3 separate regions of the Homo sapiens genome follow, and all the other regions are linked to region 1. Evidence: promoter capture Hi-C in human tissues and cell types (Jung and others, 2019). All regions are on one chromosome and are shown on one strand. Each heading gives the region's core, a stretch centred on a gene start or on the middle of the fragment in contact. The rest is flanking DNA. Distances are from core to core; before and after follow the strand shown.

What was found. The method cuts DNA at HindIII sites, captures the fragments that hold promoters and counts their contacts. A contact is called where the count stands out against the background at its distance.
Region 2: a contact is called between a fragment that was not itself captured here and the fragment with the promoter of BSDC1 in region 1, in 1 of the 25 tissues and cell types used here (bladder).
Region 3: a fragment that was not itself captured here is called in contact with the fragment with the promoter of BSDC1 in region 1 in 1 of the 25 tissues and cell types used here (spleen).

The regions. Positions count from the first base shown.
Region 1 is chr1:32,393,137-32,395,762 of GRCh38, forward strand. It overlaps BSDC1 (BSD domain containing 1), which reads right to left and starts at 1,305. Exons shown (of 11, transcript NM_018045.8): 1 at 1,268-1,305; 2 at 944-1,004. The coding sequence starts at 1,278. RefSeq lists enhancers at 346-1,043, 1,031-1,320, 1,044-1,739, 1,611-1,690, 2,438-2,626. The HindIII fragment of the contact is 8,966 bases long and covers 758-2,626 here.
Region 2 is chr1:33,185,004-33,187,629 of GRCh38, forward strand. It overlaps a transcript of ZNF362 not described here. Among named protein-coding and RNA genes, the nearest start is that of TRIM62, 4.3 kb to the left of the region's middle. The HindIII fragment of the contact is 4,325 bases long and covers 1-2,626 here.
Region 3 is chr1:32,925,225-32,927,850 of GRCh38, forward strand. No RefSeq gene overlaps it. Among named protein-coding and RNA genes, the nearest start is that of TMEM54, 25 kb to the left of the region's middle. RefSeq lists an enhancer at 1-351. The HindIII fragment of the contact is 6,638 bases long and covers 1-2,626 here.

The DNA of each region.
Region 1 (2,626 bases), core at 55-2,554:
GAAGCAGGACTCATCCCAATTGCTTGAGGTAAATAGTAATCAACTTTTCCCACAATTCAGTTGGGCTGATTTTGACAAATAAGCATGAAATGAAACAGGAATACACATTGGCAAATTACCCACTGGCACAGCCAAATATCACTCATCCCACAGAGATTGTTCAGCAAGAAGGCCTTCCACTCTCTGGTGATTAATCTCTCTCTCTCTACTGCCCGTTGCATAGCCCCTACTTAGAACTCATCAGGCACCAGTGTGTATGGCTCATGCTCATCTCTGGCTTGGGTTCTTGCTTTTCATCCTGTCTAGGCAGGGTTGCCCTTGATGAGGTTCCTTCTCCACAGGGGCCTTCCCTGGTGAGTTACTGACTAACCAGAACAGACAAGGTGCCCCTGTACTTTCCTTTCACAGAACTTACCACAACGGTAACTAAACAACTATTTGTTTGGCTACTCGGTTAATGGCTGTCTCTCCACTAGACTGTGAGCTTTGTAAGGCCCAGGATTACATCTGTTTGGCTGAAGTCTGTATCCTCAAGACCTATCAGAGTGCTGGTTGTCGCATATACTCTAATATTTGAATGACTATACGAGTAAGTTTTTTTACTGCTAGAATCTTTTCCTTCAAGACCTGTATCAAATGCTCTCTCTTTCACGAAGAAACTGAATTTCCTGAGCTGGAATAAATTGCTCCTTCCTATGGATTCCTACAAAACGTTCGTTAACTCCAGCCTTTAAAACCATCTTTATTTCACTGTGGCTAGTATCACACTGGTTTGCGTCGAGGTCTGTCTTCCCGTGGACCGGTAGAGGCTAAAAGAAAGGCCCAGGTCAGCCTCATCCTTGAGACTTAGCGCCCGCAAAAGTTGGGCGGGGCTGGTTGGACCAGGTTGCATTGAGGCGGCGCAGGGCCCTGCTGAGGGAAGAAGGGCACGGGCCCGGCTTACCTTCTCTTTGACTGCTTGGTAGCTCTGCTGCAGCCAGCTCCGCCACCATCCCACGTCCTCCCTGTGGAAGACAGACACATCTGGCAGCACCGCGGTGCGATTCCTGCCCGCCCAAGGATCCGGTTTGTTCCCCGCTCAGATGTACCCTGCGGGCCGAGGCTTCGCAGACCGCTTGCCCACCCCCTCACAATGCGACTCCACTCTGCCCTTTCAGATCAGTCCACGCCCCCGCTGATCTCACGTTCCCCACCGGGACTCTCGCCCAGCACCCCAACCCTGGGAGAATTCAGGCCCCAACGCCTAGGAGCAAAACGACAAGCTCACCCTTCCGCCATCTTGCCTGCATGACATCACCACTATTTACTGACCTTTGACTTCCGACACGGCACCGCCCCCTCAAGGACCGCCCCCGAGGCGCTCGGCCCAATCCTCGCGCCGGCACCGCCCTCAGCCCAATCCCCTCCCTGCGCCATCATTAGGTCCCGCCTCCCTGAACTCTATCCAGTCTCTGTCCCGAGTTCGCCCTCAAACTCCGCCCCTGAACTCTCAGTTCAATCGTCATTCAGTCCTGTCCTCAGGCTCCACCAAGCTTGACTCTTTGTCACTGTCCGCAAACGTCGGGTACGGTGGCCTCTATGGACGATGATCAGCCGACAAGCTGGACTGCGGAGAGCTGGGAGCAGAGGGGAGGAGGAGAGATAGCTCGAACGTCAGGATCCCAGAGCGCAGGGTTAGGACCGCCCCCCTTTGTGAAACCAGCTGCGTAGAGGCTGCTTTGTGTCTCTTTGGGCTAATTCAATAAGCCCATATTGCGGGGCTGTGGCCCAGAGTTTGGAGGAATGTGAATAATTCAGAGGCGACTTAGATGCAGCCTTTGGAGGGCTTACGGGTTAATGGGAGACACACACATTCAGTAATCTCAACTTTCGGTGGCCCAGCTCAGAACAACGCCAGGTGGAGGTGGTCTGGAGAAATCCGGAGACCGCCTGGATTGAGTTCTACTGCGATTGGAAGGGAGATTCCACAGCCCACATACTTTGGACTTTAATTAAGGTCAGCCCCTCCACGTGTGCGGTAGATCCCATCGCCTCTTGTTTGCTTAAGGACATAGATCTAGTAATCCCCCCTTCATCTCTTTTCCCTCTGATGACTGCATTTATCCTTGTCATCATCCGTACTGCTGTTTCTCCCATCTCAAAGGCAAACAAAAACCAGCCCTCTCTATATCCCTCACCGTTTCCCTACTCCCCTTTACAGCAAAAGCGTTGCCTACTCACAGTCTGCAACTCCCCTCTCCTCCCATTCTCTCTTGAACTCACTGCAGTTAGGTTTTTGCCTCTCAGACAATCCTTTGAAATAACTTTCTTTTATTTATTTAATTTTATTTAATTTTATTTATTTTATATTTATTTGTAGCTCTGCTGCAGCCAGCTCCGCCACCATCCCACGTCCTCCCTGTGGAAGACGGACACATCTATTTTATTTATTTATTTATTTTTGGTCCTCCCTGTGGAAGACGGAAACATCTATTTTATTTATTTATTTATTTTGAGTCAGAGTCTTGCTCTGTTGCCCGGGCTGGAGTGTAGTGGTGCAATCTCAGCTCGCTGCAACCTCTGCCTCCCGGGTTCAAGCGATTCTCCTGCCTCAGCCTCCCGAGTATCTGGGATTACAGTTGTGCAC
Region 2 (2,626 bases), core at 92-2,591, 790 kb after region 1:
CTCCTGACCTCAGGTCATCCAACCGCCTCTGCCTCCCAAAGTGCTGGGAATACAGGCATGAGCCACTGCGCCCAGCCAATTTTGCAGCTGTTTTTAGAAGAGGCTCTGGTACTATTTTACTCTATTGTCTAAATCCTTTCAGTAGATAGTCTTAATATGTAGGTCTAATCTCCTCCAAAGGACATAGTATGTGGTTTTCTCTGGCTGAAAGTCACAGACTCTTTTTTTTTTCTTTTGAGATGGAGTCTTGCTCTGTTGCCCAGGCTGGAGTGAAGTGGTGCAATCTTGGCTCACTGCAACCTCCACCTCCCAGCCTCAAGCAATTCTTGTGCTTCAGCCTCCCGAGTAGCTGGGATTACAGGTGCCCGCCACCACGCCAAGCTAATTTTTGTATTTTTAGTAGAGAGGGGGTTTCACCATGTTGGCCAGGCTGGTCTCAAACTCCTGACCTCAAGTGATCTGCCTGCCTTGGCCTCCCAGAGTGCTGGGATTATAGGTGTGAGCCACCGTGCCCGACCCAGTCTCTTCTCTTTCACTTTACTTCCCAGTGTTCAGTCCTTTTATCCTCTGAGCAGTTCTTCTCTTGACCTTATTCCATCTCCATTAAGATGCAGAACACTAAAACTGTTGATTATCTTTACATTTGGCAAGTCATTGCTCTCTCCACATCTGATGTGGTTGAGTGGTCTGAACTAAGACTTAGAGATCCTGACTGCAGTGTATGCCATCTGCTTCCATTCATACTCCAGAAATTAACATCAGGAATTTTTTTTTCTGGAAAGCTATCCAAGAGCTATTGTTGAGTGAGAAAAAGAAAAGAAAGACCCAAATACACTGACACATAGACACCCACAGACTTAGACACAATCACAGGCATTATTTGCATAACAAAAATTCTATAGAACTATATTCTAATTGTGTTCTTTTGTGGGCTGGGATTATGGGGGACTTTAACTTTTACATTAGATAGCTCTGTTTATTATATATATTTTTGTAATCAGAAAAAATAAAGAAAATTGATCCTCATTATTTATGGATTCCATATTTGCAAAATCACCTACTTCTAAAATTTATTTGTAACCTTCAAATCAATACTTGAGGCACAATTGCTATTATTTGTGGACATACTTATGTGCAGTGGTGAAAATCTTGACTTACCCACACATATGTTCCCAGCTGAAGGTGAACAAAGGGACACCCTGCCTTCTTGTCTCAGCTGTCATAGTGTAAACAAGTATTCTTTTTGTGACTTATTTGGTGCGAACCGTTCTCATTTTTTGTGCCTTTTTGTTGGTGATTTTGCTATTTAAAATGGCCCCAAGCATTGTGCTGAAGTGCTCTCTGGTGTTCTCAAGCACAAGAAGGCTGTGATGTGCCTTAAGGAGAAAATACGTGTGCTTGATAAGCTTTGTTCAGACATGAGTTACAGTAGTGTTGGCTGTGAGTTCAGTGCTAGTGAATCAACAATTTATATATTAAATAAGGGTCTCTAAGCAGAAACACACATAAAACAAAGTTGTGGCTGGGTCCAGTGGCTCACTCCTGTAATCCCAGCATTTTGGGAGGCTAAGGCAGGAGGATCACCTGAGGTCAGGAGTTTGAGACCAGCCTGGCCAACATGGTGAAACCCCCATCTCTACTAAAAAACAAAAATTAGCTGGGCGTGGTGGCGGGTGCTTGTAATTCCAGCTACTTGTGAGGTTGAGGCACGAGAATCACCTGAACCCAGGAAGTGGAGGTTGCAGTGAGCCAAGATCCCGCCACTGCACTCCAGCCTGGGCGACAGAGCGAGACTCCGTCTCAAAAAAAAAAAAAAAAAAAAGAAATGAGTTCACTCTCTAAATTAGTGCTTCTCAATGCATAGTCCTTGAGCCACATGTGTCTTAGCATGGGTTCTTCCAAGAACTGACCTTAAGATAAGGACTAAAGTGAAAATAGTTTATTTGGGGAGCATAAGTAACACTAATAGGGAAGTGGGAAGGTGATACAGGGAAGGGAAGGCAGCCCCATAAGGGTGCACTATTATCACAAAGGGGAACTGAAGATTTATCCTGCAGGGAAACTCTGGGAAATGGTACAAAACCTCAGAATGATCGATGCCTCAGAAGCATCCCACCCAAAGGGTGAGGGAGCTGGGGTATTTATACACCATGTTTGAGTGTTGAGGCTGCTCCCTGGTGGTGTTTAATTCTTTGGCACTTGTGAACTGTGATGTGTACAGTCAGCTCTCTGTAGTTCTGGGAAAATGATCCCTTAGCTACCATGTGGATGCTGGCAGTTGGAAGTCTTGGGAATACATTGACAGGTTTGAGGGACAATGGCAGGGCATTGACAGTATGTGTCACAGTTCACCCTTGCACCTGCTCAGATAAACTTGCATTCATATTAAGTTTCATGTTCTGTCACTGCTTCTTTGGGTGGTGGAAAGTCACGATTTGTTACAAGAAGAGAGGAGAAGAAGGAAGAGGAAGAGGTAGAAAGGATAACAGATAAGAGGAGGGACAATCTCCAGACCCCACTGCTGTAGTTGGTCCTAAAGTGTAACTGATGCTCAGCTTCCGACTCTACTACCCTTTCTAGATGCCCCTCACCTGGTCCAGCAGGGGTCACTTACTCCTGCCTGTTC
Region 3 (2,626 bases), core at 64-2,563, 530 kb after region 1:
GCGCGCCTGGCCCCTGGGCCCGGCAACCCGAAGAGACACGCCTGAGACCTCCTGTGTTAGAAAATCTGCACTCAGGACTTTGAAGAAGTCCTTGCCCAGTCGTCTTGGGCAATATCAACGACCAGACATAAGAAACTTAGACAGACACCAGACAGGACAATAGACACTAAACAAGACAATAGACACTGGGGTATATAAACAATTATGACAATTTTTATAGACAGACAAGGGGAGGGGGTCCCGTGATGGGATCAGTCAGATGCCCGCCTGGCTGCTCCCCCTGAGGGGACTTAGGCTCCTCTTCGCATTGGCAGACCGGTATAAACCCCCGGCTCAGATGGAGCTATGCCAGATGCTGCCTTAAGCCGTATGAGGTCGCCACGGAACAGTAGGTGAGGGCCCTCTCGAATTCCGTAGCTTTCACGGTGGAGCTACAAACTGGAAATTCAAGCGCAAGCCCTTGAACTCCACATACATGCACTGATTCACACAGAGTTTACAACAGGTTTTTTTTTTTAATTCCCGTTCTAAAACAGAGGTCTCCAGGAGACCTGAAAGAAGAAGAGATAGAGAAAGAGGGAGGGAGGGAGAGAGAGGAGAGAGAGAGAAAGAGAGAGAGCGAGAGAGAGAAGAGAGAGAGAGAGAGACAGACAGCCTAGACTTAACGGAGAGGCTGGCCTGCCAGAAACCAGGACTCAGTCCTCCAGCGTCCTAGAATATGGACAGAGTCACGGGAGGGCCCTCGTCAGGGCTGCTTCCCTCTCAGAGAGACACAGAGGCGCCTAACAGAAAACCAGGACTCCGTCCTCCAGCGTCCTGGAATGCGAGCAGAGTCAAAAAGGGACGGCCTTCATCAGAGCCACTTCCCTCCCAGAGAAACAGAGTCAGATCTGACTTACCTTCCCGGGACTAGAAACTGAGGACTTAGGAGTTGAATTTTTTGTGGGCACACACCGGTGGTCGATCCGTTCCCCTCCGGAAGATAGGGTCTTATGGGGCCCTGGAACGTCTTCAGGTGGCGCCTCCCCTGTAAGTCCGCCGTCTGTCCGGGGGAGCCTGGAACGAGTCGGGCTCTCACCCAGGGGCGAATTTCTCGCTGGGGCCTCCAAATGTTGTAACCAAGCGAGTTATAGAGAAACACCACATTTTGAAACTAATTCAGGAGTCTTTTATTACATGGCGACCGAGAGATGGCTAGAGCTCAAAATTCTCTCGGCCCCGAAGAAGGGGCTAGATTTTCTTTTACACTTTGGTTTAGAGAGGGGACGGGGAGCCTAGCTGTAGCAATCTTACAGAAGTAAAACAGGCAAAAAAAAAAAAAAAAAAAAAAAAAAAAGTTAAAAAGACAAATGGTTACAGGAAAACAAACAGTTCCAGGTGCAGGGGTTTTAAATTCATCACAAGCTGATAGGTGCGGGGGCTCTGGGTGCTATCTGCTGGACACAAATGCAGGGGCTTTAGGGTACCATCACCTGGGCGAATTCCTGGGAATCGCGGACATAGCTTGCCACAGTACCTTATCAGTTAATTGCACTCTTTGATATGCTGAGAGTCAGCTTGCACAAGTCCTTGAGGAAGGGGGTGGGTAAGGAGCCCTTGATGTCTTGCAAAGGAAGGAGCCAAATGGAGTCCATCTCGCTTTCTCAGCTAAGAGAGAGTCAATCAACTTAATACAAGTTACGGTATCACAAGAACATTTGAAATTTACTCTTCAAATGATGTACATTTGAAATGTACAATCATATACTATTGTATTAGGCCATTCTCAAATTACTATAAAGGAATACCTGAGACTGGATAATTTATAAAGAAAACAGGTTTAATTGGCTCATGGTTCTGTAGGCTGTGCAAGCATGGTACCTGGCATCTGCTTGGCTTCTGGGGAGGCCTCAGGAAGCTTTTATTCATGGTGGAAGGCAGAGCACTTAATACTGGTGAAAGCCAGAGAAATAGAGAGGTGGGGGAGGTGCCACACACTTTCAGTCAACCAGATCTCTAGACTCACTATTGTGAGGACAGCATCAATCCGTGAAAGATCCACCCCATGATCCAATCACTTCCCACCAGGCCCCATCTCCAGCACTGGGGATTACAATTCAACCTGAGATTTATATGGGCACAAATATCCAAACTCTATCAACTATTATTAACTATATTCACCATGCTGTGCAATAGATCTCAAAACAAACAAACAAACAAACAAACAAACAAACGTATTCCTCCTGAGGTCTTGTACCCTTTGACCATCATTTTCCCTATTCCCCTCAGCCCTCAGCCTCTGGTAACCACCATTCTACTTTGTTTCTATGGATTCAATTGTTTTAGATTCTACATGCAAGTGGTAACGTGGTATTAGTCTGTGCCTGGCTTATTTCACTTAGCATAATGTTCTCCAGCTCCATCCATGTTGTTGCAAATAACAGAATTTCTTTCTTTTTCAAGGCTGAATAGTATTCCATCATTTATAAATACATTTTCTTTATTTTTTCATCCATTGATGGGGTAGACTCCAACTTGTATGCGGAATGTTAGCTGCATGGGAGTCTGGGAAATAGTTTTTATCTTTGCAGCCTCTGCAGTATGAGGAAGTGTTTGGAATGGATGTTGAAAGTCAGTTCACCATGTC